2 separate regions of the Homo sapiens genome follow, and region 2 is linked to region 1. The links are contacts of gene promoters, found by promoter capture Hi-C in blood cells and fetal thymus (Javierre and others, 2016). All regions are on one chromosome and are shown on one strand. The core of a region is centred on a gene start or on the middle of the fragment in contact, and the rest is flanking DNA. Distances in the headings are between cores, read along the strand shown.

What was found. The method cuts DNA at HindIII sites, captures the fragments that hold promoters and counts their contacts. A CHiCAGO score of 5 or more calls a contact.
Region 2: a contact is called between a fragment that was not itself captured here and the fragment with the promoter of YPEL4 in region 1, in 1 of 17 cell types (neutrophils). The highest score is 5.3, in neutrophils.

The regions. Positions count from the first base shown.
Region 1 is chr11:57,647,917-57,653,885 of GRCh38, forward strand. It overlaps YPEL4 (yippee like 4), which reads right to left and starts at 1,996. Exons shown (of 5, transcript NM_145008.3): 1 at 1,769-1,996. It overlaps MIR130AHG (MIR130A host gene), which reads left to right. Exons shown (of 2, transcript NR_186232.1): 2 at 2,382-4,985. RefSeq lists an enhancer at 368-507. The HindIII fragment of the contact is 14,007 bases long and covers 1-5,969 here.
Region 2 is chr11:57,687,053-57,693,049 of GRCh38, forward strand. ZDHHC5 (zDHHC palmitoyltransferase 5) reads left to right here. Exons shown (of 12, transcript NM_015457.3): 4 at 1,456-1,613; 5 at 2,979-3,151; 6 at 3,283-3,385; 7 at 5,559-5,650. Among named protein-coding and RNA genes, the nearest start is that of ZDHHC5, 22 kb to the left of the region's middle. The HindIII fragment of the contact is 3,064 bases long and covers 1,806-4,869 here.

The sequences.
Region 1 (5,969 bases), core at 746-3,245:
TCACGTGTGGCCGCCCATTCTCGCACCTTGGTTCACTCATTCTGGCCCAGAATAAGCACCTGCCTGTCTTCCCAGCCTGTGGGCCCCTTGGTCTTTCTCTCTCCTAGTCTTTACTAACTGTTGCCTTAGCCCTTGGTTAAAGACTTAGGCAGAAAATACATTTTCTTCAGGCAATCTGACAGCTGGAGCCAATGGGAAATGGGTAGCATGTCAGAGGAGCCTGATTCCTGGGCTGGGCAGGGCTGTGTGGTAGGGTGAGAGCAACGGCCACAACGAACAGCAGAAGGGGGACTCTTATTTTTAACAGCTGTGCTTTGGGGCACAAGGCAGAAAATGTTTCTTTCTACCTTCTCCCAGGGGCAGGGACAAACAGCAGTGACTCTGTGGGTGACTGAAGATGAAGTAATTGCTGGGTTCTGATTAGGAATAGAGGAAGATTGCCTTCTGCCCACGCGCCAGCCTCCGAGTGGCTGAAGGTGCTGGAGGCAGAGGATAAGAAGGGAGGTGGCCCCTGTTGGCTCCGATAAGCAGGTGAGCTGCTGCTTTCTCCTTCATAGGGCTTCCCAGCCCACTGTGGGTGGTTAGCCTAAGTCTGGTTCAGAGATGCCAGCTGGGCACTCTGGCAATGCTAGAGCACTAAGCAGAGAAGAGGCAGTGTTGGCTCTGGTTAGCCAGGGCATACAGGCTCTCCTCGTCCTGTCCTCCGCAGTGGCCACAGGCACCCAGCTGTTCCACTCTCTCTGAAGGCCGCCAGGCAGTCTCTCCGCAAAACCTCCATAGAGACTATCTTCAGTTTCAGGTCCTCTCCTCCGGGCTGGGTCCCAGGAAGACACCTTGGGCTGAGTTCAGGGTGACATTGGGCTCCGGCTGCAGGAAACGGGCCCTCCTTGCCAAGAGACCACCTTTCAGTCTCTGCTTCACAGGTTTGCCTTCAACTTTGCCAGCGAGTTCCCCTCTGACATGCACCACCTTGAAACACCTTCTTCAAGGGGCATGGAGAATGGGGCAGCTTGGGTCCCCAATCCTGAGCTCCTTCTCCAGCCTCCGGCCGTCACGCCTCCCTCCCTCTCCCCTAATTCCCAGTCAAGCCAAGGAAAGGCTGCACAGAAGGCCAGAGAATCACAAAGGGGAGTAGGGGTCATTTTTTCACCCATCTCGGATCACAGGGAGAAGCAAGTTGGGCAAATGACTGGAGAAAAAACAAAGGCAAGCCGAGTGCTGGGGAGAGATGTTCCCCTGAAGTGAGACGGGGCTGGACCGTAGGAGAAAGGGGAGAGGGAGGGCTGGCGGGGGCAACTGACAGCTGACAGCAGAGGCGCCGAGGCGGAGGCTGGAGGAACCAGGTGCGAATCTCGTGCTTCTCAGGGGGGAAAAGAAAAGGGGGGGGACACCTGCTCACAATGGATTTTCTCATCTGCTCTGAGGTTTTGGCACCCCCCAGGCTGGTATTCTCAGTATGGTATGGTCCAAATAATTAGCAGCACCGCCAGCTCCCAGGGCAGGCTTTGGGGGTCTGCACCAGCAGCAAAACAATAAACAGTGATGCCTGATGCTGCAGCCAAAGTTGCCGGGAAATAAGTGCGGGAATCGTCAGAGCTTGGAGAGGGATGGAGGAACCGAGAGAGAGGAGCGGAGGCAGCGGGGAGGGGGAAGGGAGGACAAAGGGTGGATGAATAATGCTTTTGCAAAGGGGAGAAAGCAACACGCAGCAGGAGGAGGAAATTTGCAAAGAGAAAAAAATTCATTTGGAGAAGGGCTGCCCCCTCACCTTGAGGTCTGCTCCAGAGATCTCCGTCTATCTCTCTCTCTCTCTCTCAATCTCTCAATCTCTCTGCTCACTCTTCTCTCTTCTCTTTCCGCTCCTTCAATTGGGAAGGGGATGGGGGTGGGTGGGGGGAGGGTAGTTGGGGGCTCAAGACTGGGGCTGCAAAGCTGGCCAGCTGCTGGGGGGGCAGAGGTTGTCTCTCGTTCTGTACCTCGGTCTGTGGGTGAATGTGGCTGTGTGTTGTGGAACTGCATCATAACACTGTGAGTCATCCATCCCCCCCACCCCCCCTCACCTCCCACGTCAGAGCAGGGCTGGGAGACACAGGAGGCGGGTCGGAAGGAAGGGAGGGGGTAGGCATCAAGGGACGGGGCTAGAGGAGTGGGGGCCGAGGGACAAGGCGGCGATGGTGGGCAAGGGGAGAGGCAGGTTGTTAAGGAGGAAGGCAGTGGGGCCAAGGAGATACGAAGAACCTGGGGGAAGGACAGGGCTGGGCAAGGATGCAGTGAGGGTGGCAGGGCTGGAGGAAAGGAGGTGGCAAGGCTGGTGAAGGAAGAGATGGATGCAGAGTGAGGGAGCACACACACATTTAAGATGATACACTTTCCCATTTCAGCTTGGACACCAGCCCTGAAGCAGGGAAAAGACAGATGTACTAATTGTCATGGATGGCAAACTGTGCCCCCAAACTTGTACCAAGCCTCAAAGCCTTGGTTTAATACTCCTGAAGGAGTAATAGACCCAATGTGACATTTTGCATGCAGGAACCCCTTAACAGCTACCTCCATATTATGCGTGCTTCATGAATGGAGACACCTACGTTATATGAAGTTCTCTATTGGGCTGTAAACTTCCTGAGACAGGCCTTCTGGGAAATTACTCTCTACATCCCAGGACTGCAATGTCCAGTGCAGACCCGTGCATTTAGATGTTTCCAAAATAGCAGTTGTTTCCGCGGCATTATGTTCTGCTGGCCTAGAGGTCTTAGTTCCAGAGGGAGGAATGCTGCCACCAAGAGACACAACAATGATTCCATTAAACTGGAAGTTAAGATTGCCACCTGGCCACTTTGGGCTCTTCTTACTTTTAAGCCAACTTGCTAAGAAGGGAGTTACAGTGTTTGACCCAGACTATCAAGATGAAATCAGTCTACTACTCCACAATGGCGGTAAGGAAGTATGCGTGGAATACAGGAGATCACGTAGGGCGTCTCTTAATATTACCATGCCCTGTGATTAAGGTCAATGGGAAACTGCAACAGCCCAATCCAGGCAGGATGACAAATGGCCCAGACCCTTCAGGAATGAAGGTTTGGGTCACTCCACCAGGTAAAAAAAACATAATCTGCTGAGGTGCTTGCTGAAGGCAAACGGAATTCAGAATGGGTAGTCAAAGAAGGTAGTCATCAATACGAACTATGACCATGTGACCAGCTGCAGAAAATGAGGACTGTAATTGTCATGAGTATTTCCTCCTCCTTTTGTTAGGAACATGTTTGTGCATATATACACTTGTATTAAGAAAATATCTTCATTTTATTTCCTTTCTTTTGCCTTTATCATGTGACATAAGACTTACTGACTTGATATCAGCACTTAAGTGTTGTTAACTCTATGTAATAGCATTTGGGTTGGGGATTGGTGCGTTTCCGGTTGTACAAAGGATAGCTGTATTATGTTAAGCGTAATTATGACCTTATTATTGTCTTTATTTGAAGATCATGTATGATTTCAGGAGACGTGTATGGGTTCAAGTTGACAAGGGGTGGACTGGTGATGGTTAATATTGTCAACTAGATTGGATTGAAAGATGCAAAGTATTGTTCCTGGGTGTGTCTGTGAGGGTATTGCCAAAGGCGATTAACATTTGAGTCAATGGACTAGGAAAGGCAGACCCACCTCAATCTGGATGGGCACAATGTAATCAACTGTCAGCTAGGCCAGAATAAAAGCAGACAGAAGAACGTGGAAAGACCAGACTGGTTTAGCCTCTGAGCCTACGTCTTTCTCCCATGCTGGACGCTTCCTGCCCTCGAATATTGAACTCCAAGGTCTTCAACTTTGGGATTCGGACTGGCTTCCTTGCCCCTCAGCTTGCAGGCAGCCTACTGTGGGACCTCATCTGGTGATCATCTGAGTCAATATTCCGTAATAACTCTGATTTATATATACATCTATCCTATTAGTTCTATCCCGCTAGAGAACTCTGATTAATAGAGCAGTTGAGTTGCATCTTCAGACATGAACCAAGTGTCTGGCTTTGGTCTCAAAGAGACTGAATTAGACTCTTAGCTCTGCCAATTACTTGGCAGGAACCACTAGGCAAATTACTGATAATCTTTGTGCCTTAGTCTTACTCTTCTGCTAAATGAAGCTAATAATATTTATTATTATTAGCTCATGGAGATGCAGAATAAAGTGAGATAACATTTAAATGCCTGAAAAATGCCTGGCACATGATAGGCAGTAAACAGTAGTGTCATTTCAAAACAACATTCTCGCCAGGTGCGGTGGTTCACGCCTGTAATCCCAGCACTTTGGGAGGCCGAGGCAGGCAGATCACAAGGTCAGGAGATCGAGACCATCCTGGCCAACATGGTGAAATCCCCATCCCTAATAAATAACAAAAATTAGCTGGACATGGTGGCACGTGCCTGTAATCCCAGCTACTCGAGAGCCTGAGGCAGGAGAATCGCTTGAACAGGAAGTCAGAGGTTGCGGTAAGCTGAGATGGCGCCACTGTACTCACAGAGGTTGCAGTGAGCCGATCGCGCCAGCCTGGTGACAGAGCGAGACTCTGTTTCAAAAAAAAAAAAAGCATTCTTGGCTGGGTGAGGTGGCTCACACCTTGTAATCCCAGCACTTTGGGAGGCCGAGGTAGGCGAATCACCTGAGGTTGGGAGTTCGAGACCAGCCTGGACAACGTGGTGAAACCCCCCTCTCTACTAAAAATACAAAAAATTAGCCAGGTGTGATGGCGTATGCCTGTAATCACAGCTACTTGGGAGGCTGAGGCAGAAGAATCGCTTGAACCCAGGAGGCGGAGGTTGCAGTGAGCCAAGATGGGACCACTGCACTCTAGCCTGGGCAACAAAGAGAGACTCCGTCTCAAAAAAAAAAACAAAACCAAAAAAACAAAAGTGAAACCAAAACAGCATTCTCAATGTATGACCCCCAAAACCCAGGGAGGATTTATTATTAAATTCTGATATCTCAAGAGACACATGCCAAATTTTTGTCTTATGAAGACATTACATCTTTTGTTGCTATTTTTCTAGCAGCTTCCAGTTAAATTTCATTTGACTCAGAATTCATTTCTCATGGGGTGCTGTCCTGTGCATGTTACTAAAGTATGTGAACACAGAACATATCCCCTAAGACAAAAACCCTGATTTCTAACAGAGTCTAGCATTTAGCAAATGAAGTACGACAAAGATAGGGACTTCTAGAAAGCAGTGCTTGGGGGTGGTTTGTTTTTCTTCTCACACGTAAAGAGGGAAAAAAAAGTTAAGGCAGAGAAATGTGGGTAATGGGAGACATTGCTAGTTGAGCATGAAAATAAAAAGGGATTCTAAATATTTAATCAGGGAAGATTCTGGGGTTTAAAGTAAATTCTGAAAAGACAATGTGGGTGTCTTGAGGGATAGTACTAGAGATTTGGAATTGAGAGAAAAAGCTAGGTAAAGAAAGAAGAGAGAAGTGCTTTTGTTTGGGCAGCAGAAGAGAGGGGAGATAAAAGTAGAACACATGGACACAGGAAGGGGAACATCACGCACTGGGGCCTGTTGAGGGGTGGGGGGAGGGGAGAGGGATAGCATTAGGAGATATACCTAATGCTAAATGACGAGTTAATGGGTGCAGTACACCAATATGGCACATGTATACATATGTAACAAACCTGCACGTTGTGCACCACATGTACCCTAAAACTTAAAGTATAATAATAATAAAATTTAAAAAAAAAAGAAAAAAAAAGATTTTGAAAAGCAATTGTTGAGGAGAACAATGAGAAGTGGGAAAAGGCAAATGATTAGTTTTCAAGGCATGGATCGAAAGTTCTTTTGTTTTGTTTGTTTGTTTGTTTGTTCTTTGAAATGGAATCTCGCTCTGTTTCCCAGGCTGGAGTGCAATGCCATGATCGAGAATCACTGCAACCTCCGGCTCCCGGGTTCAAGTGATTCTCCCACCTCAGCTTCCTGAGTAGC
Region 2 (5,997 bases), core at 2,088-4,587, 40 kb after region 1:
ACTCCTGGCCTCAAGTCATCTGCCCTCCTTGGCCTCCCAAAGTGCTGGGATTACAGGCATGAGCCACCGTACCCAGCTGTACAGTTCTTTACCTAGCATTTCTTGTGATGTAAATATGAAAAAATGCTATGTAAAGAAATCAGTAAAATTTGAAAACTTAATTTTTAATTCCACACTATCATCTATTTAATTTTTCCTTCCCACATTTTTTTTTTCTAGGTTAATAATAAAAATTGCTCTGGGTGCGGTGGCCCATGCTTGTAATCTTAATACTTTGGGAAGCTGAGGCAGGTGGATTGCCTGAGCTCAGGAGTTTGAGACCAGCCTGGGGAACACGGTAAAACCCCGTCTCTATTAAAAATACAAAAAATTAGCTGCCGAAGTGGCGTGCGCCTGTAATCCCAGCTGTTTGGGAGGCTGAGACAGAAGTATCACTTGAACCCGGCAGGTGGAGGTTGCAGTGAGCCAAGATCACGCCCTTGCACTCCAGCTTGGGTAACAGAGCAAGACTCCGTCTCAAGAAAAAAAAAATTGCTAACTGTATATGAGAAGGCAAATAATGTCTTTTAAGTTTTGAAATGGGATGGTGGGTTTCTGATAGCTGAAAATTGAGAGAAAGGGCATTTATGCTTGTGCAACAAATAATACTGAAATACGTATATGTAGAGAAAATTCATAGAGTAGGGGAAGACATTTTGGGAAAGTTTTTTTTTTTTTTTTTTTTTTTTTTAAGATGAAGATGAAGTCTTGCTGTGTTGCCCAGGCTTGAGTGCAGTGGCGTGATCTCAGCTCACTGCAACCTCCACTTCCCGGGTTCAAGCGATTCTCTTGCCTTAGCCTCCTGAGTAGCTGGGACTACAGGTGCATGCCACCACACCAGGCTAATTTTTGTGTTTTTAGTAGAGACGAGGTTTCACCATGTTGGCCGTGCTGGTTTTGAACTCCTGAGCTCAGGCAATCCGCCCTTCTCGGCCTCCCAAAGTGTTGGGATTACAGGCGTGAGCCACCATGGTTGGCTGGGCAAAGGATTCGTGCCTGGAAAAAAAGGTTGATGTTAGTTCCTCTCTTGGATTGCTATAGTTCACTCATATAAATGTAGATACTGAACTCTTATGCAAACTCATTATGTATGTGCTTTGATATGTAAACTATTTCTTTAAAATATATTCATATACTTAAACCAAATAACACCAGCAGATGCATACAAGAGCTACCTCTTGAGTCATTTTATCTCGAACCTCACTTCCCAATGCAGAATAAATTGCTCCCTCATCCATGTTCCCATAGTGTTGTATAAAGACCTGACCTCACAGTCTTATAGTTCCTAGTTCCTAGTCTCACTCATTAGACTGTGAATTCCTCAAAGGCAGAAGCTATATTTTAAACATCATTGAATCCCTAGCACTTACTACAGTTCTGGCATAGTTGTTTTTAATTGACTTTTCCTCTCTACAGCTGAGGAGGATGAGGACAAGGAAGATGATTTCCGAGCTCCCCTTTACAAAACAGTGGAGATAAAGGGCATCCAGGTGCGCATGAAATGGTGTGCCACCTGCCGCTTTTACCGTCCCCCTCGATGTTCCCACTGCAGTGTCTGTGACAACTGTGTGGAGGTAAGCACCCTGGGTGGGGTAAGACTTCATGCTTAACCTTCATTGTCTTCATCCTAACCATATAATAGATTCTTAGCTTTGGATGTGGTATAGTCCTGTCTAACTACGTTGGCCACATGGTCCAGCTCTGTCAAATGGTGTTAATAATGACATGGCATGAGAGGCAGAGCATAAATATTATTGCAGGAGGGAAGCTTTAACTCAATATGGGCATAGGCTTTCTTTTTTATTTATTTTTACTTTTTGTAGTGATGAGGTCTCACTGTGTTGCTTGGACTATCTCAAATTCCTGGCTTCAAGTGATCCTCATGCCCTGGCCTCCCAGAGTGCTGAGTGCTGGGATTACAGGCATGAGCCATTGCACTAGCAGGGTGTAGGCTTTCTTGACACCAAGATTTATAGTTCTAGCCTTCTATCTATTGGCTCAGTTTTGGTTATTTATCCTGGCTTTGCATTTTCTCTTCCAGAAAATCATGCTGTTGTGTTTCAATTTGTTGTAGTTGTTTTCCTGCCTGTCCTTCTGCATCCCTTGTCCTTTTTCCATTCCATTTTCACTTAGCTATAAGCAGTTACCTGCCAAATCTTCCTTCTAATCCTCTTTTCTTATGAATCTTGATGTTTCTGCAAAACCTCTGACATTCGTCACTTTTAGAGTTCCTTGGTCACATAGGATAAACATTGAGAGCCGGCCTTGGTCTTTTTTATATATATATATATTTATTTATTTATCGAGACGGAGTCTCGCTCTGTTGCCCAGGCTGGAGTGCAATGGCGCAATCTCGGCTCACTGCATCCTCCGCCTCCCGGGTTCAACCGATTCTCCTGCCTCAGCCTCCTGAGTAGCTGGGATTACAGGCACGCGCTACCACGCCCGGCTAATTTTTGTATTTTTAGTAGAGATGGGGTTTCACCATGTTGGTCAGGCTGGTCTTGAACTCCTGACCTCGTGATCTACCCGCCTCGGCCTCTCAAAGTGCTGGGATTACAGGCGTGAGCCACCGCGCCCGGCCAATTTTTTTTTTTTTTTTTTTTTAAGAGATGGGGTCTTGCTATGTTGCCCAGTACAGTGGCTATTCACAGGCAGTCATCATAGTTCACTACAGCCTTGAACTCCTGGGCTCAAGCCCCAGCCCCCCAAGTAGCTGGGACTACAAGTGTGCACCACTACGCCTGGTTGGCCTTGGCCTTTGACCAACCTCTGGAAGGTCTCCCTTGCAGATTTATAGAGCAAAATAAACTGGATTTAATTTTGAACTAATTGGTGACCATGATCAAAACTTAGCTGCCATTTGTTTCTCTTCTTGACAGAAGTAATTTAATGCTATGGTCCAGGGATGCCTCTCATCTGTCTCTCTTTGTCCCTAGGAATTTGATCATCACTGCCCCTGGGTGAATAACTGTATTGGTCGCCGGAACTACCGTTATTTTTTCCTTTTCCTCCTTTCCCTGACAGCCCACATTATGGGTGTGTTTGGCTTTGGCCTCCTTTATGTCCTCTACCACATAGAGGAACTCTCAGGGGTCCGCACGGCTGTCACGTATCCTTCAAGGCCTTTTAGATTGTGGGATTGGAAGGGGGAGGAATGAGGGCTAAAGGGAAAATGGCTGCAGTAGGGGCCGGGGAAAGTGAGGTCATGTTGCTCTGTTCTCCTTGATTGTTTGGCATCAGAATGGCAGTAATGTGTGTGGCTGGCTTATTCTTCATCCCTGTAGCTGGCCTCACGGGATTTCACGTGGTTCTGGTGGCCAGGGGACGCACAACCAATGAACAGGTATGGAGAAAAGTGACGAGAGACCCCTGAAGAGCAGGTCATGTCTCTTTAGCCTTCTGATTAGTGTGCAGTGTAGTGCTTCCACAAAGAGATGCTTAATGAATACTTTTCATGATTATGTAGAGATTAATGGTAGGGAGTGAGGTAGTCCTAGTTCCTCATGTAAGTGTAGAGGCCATGTAAGAATAGAGGCCATTTCTCACATATACACCATGGAATACTATGCAGCCATAAAAAAGGATGAGTTCTTGTCCTTTGTAGGGACATGGATGAATCTGGAAACCATCATTCTGCGCAAACTGTCGCAAGGACAGAAAACCAAACACCGCATGTTCTCACTCATAGGTGGGAACTGAACAATGAGAACACTTGGTCACGGGGTGGGGAACATAACACCCTGGGGCCTGTTGTGGGGCAGGGGGAGCGGGGAGGGATAGCATTAGGAGATATACCTAATGTAAGTGACGAGTTAATGGGTGCAGCACACCAACATGGCACATGTATACATATGTAACAAACCTGCATGTTGTGCATATGTACCCTAGAGCTGTAAGTATAATAATAATAAAGATACTCTCAAAGAGATACTAAGACAATAGAGATAAAGGCTGAATTTTGCCCTAAAATATCTTTTTTTATTTTTTATTTTTTTGAGACAGAGTCTTGATCTGTCGCCCAGGCTGGCATCCAGTGGCGTGATCTTGGCTCACTGCAACCTCTGCCTCCTGGGTTCAAGCGATTCTCCTGCCTCAGGCTCCCAAGTAGCTGAGATTACAGATGTGCATCACCACGCCCAACTAATTTTTGTATTTTTAGTAGAGACAGGGTTTCACCATGTTGGCCAGGCTGGTCTCGAACTCCCGACCTCAGGTGATCCACCCACCTCAGCCTCCCAAAGTGCTAAAATATCTTTTATTTATTTATTTATTTATTGTAATTTTAGTAGACACGGGGTTTCACCATGTTAGCCAGGATGGTCTCGATCTCTTGACCTCGTGATCCGCCCACCTCGGCCTCCCAAAGTGCAGGGATTACAGGCATGAGCCACTGCGCCCAGCCTAAAAATATATTTTATAACAAAATAATATCTATCTCCAAAGAAAGTCTTGGATGGTTTGGCATCATCACCTGAAATATCAATTGAGAGACCCAAACCAAACTGAAACTAGACAATATAGCATAAAGAATAAGATGATAGTTTTTTAAACAATACTCACCATAGAACTTGGTATCCAAATAATAGTATTCTTTCTTTAGTTTGTCAAAAATCATATTAATAGATTTTTAAATTTAAAGTGTAGCAAGACATATGTATATGTACATATATGTTCATATACATATAAATATTTAAGATCTTCCTAAAAAAAAAAAAGAATAGAGGCCACTTCTTAGTTAACAGACATTTACTATATGCCCACTGGATACTGGAGAATTTAGGCTCTGAGTTTATAGAAACAATGAAAGACTTAGGCTAGCCCTCAAGAAGCTTATAGTGCTGCTTACAGGAAAGCAATGATTTTTGTGCATATAATAGTAGCTAACCTTAATTGCTTTTTTTTTTTCTTTTTTGAGACAGAGTATCGCTTTGTCACCCAGGCTGGAGCCCACTGGCTGGAGCCCACTGGCTGGGGCGCAGTGGCACGATCTCGGCTCACTGCAACCTTTGCCTCCTGGCTTCAAGCAATTCTCCTGCCTCAGCTACCCAAGTAGCTGGGATTGCAGGTGCCTGACACCATGCCCGGCTAGTTTTTATATATTTTTATAGTAGAGATGGGGTTTTGCCATGTTGGCCAGTTTGGTCTCAAATTCCGGACCTCAGGTGATCCACCTGCCTCAGCCTCCCAAAGTGCTGGGATTACAGGTGTGAGCTGCCATGCCCAGCCCTTAATTGCTTATTCTTTATCTTAGTTTTCAATATTTAGAAAGCTATCCCATTTTACATGAGGAAACTGAGGTTTTGGGTCAGCAACCATGAGGTAGACCTAGGATTTGAACTAAGGACCCTGACTGTAGATTCCCTGCTCTTAACCATAACATATATAAATTTCTTGTGTTTTACTCATTTGCATAGCCCTCAGATAGTGAGTGCACAATAACTTGTAATAGATTTGTATTTTGGCCTTTGGAAGTCAAGGTCTCATCTTCTAACCTGGTATTTTTTTTCTCCCTCTAGGTTACGGGTAAATTCCGGGGAGGTGTGAACCCCTTCACCAATGGCTGCTGTAACAATGTCAGCCGTGTTCTCTGCAGTTCTCCAGCACCCAGGTACACCTATCCCTCTGGTCTAGTGTTTACCATTGGTCAGAACTTTTATCTTCTTTGGGCTTGTTCTGGTAAAGGAGGGGTCTGGTGAGAGCCTTTAGGAAGGGTTCTCTATCTTAGAATGTTAAGTACCCACTCTATCTTAGAATGGTAAGTAGTCTATCTTAGAATGGTAAGTACCTACATGCCCATCCTTTAGTGCAGTGGTCCCTAACCTTTTTGGCAGCAGGGACCGGTTTCATGGGAGACACTTTTTCCACAGATGGGGGCTGGGGTGGGGTGGTTTCAGGATGAAACTGTTCCACCTCAGATCATGAGGCATTAGATTCTCATGGCTGGGTGTGGCGGCT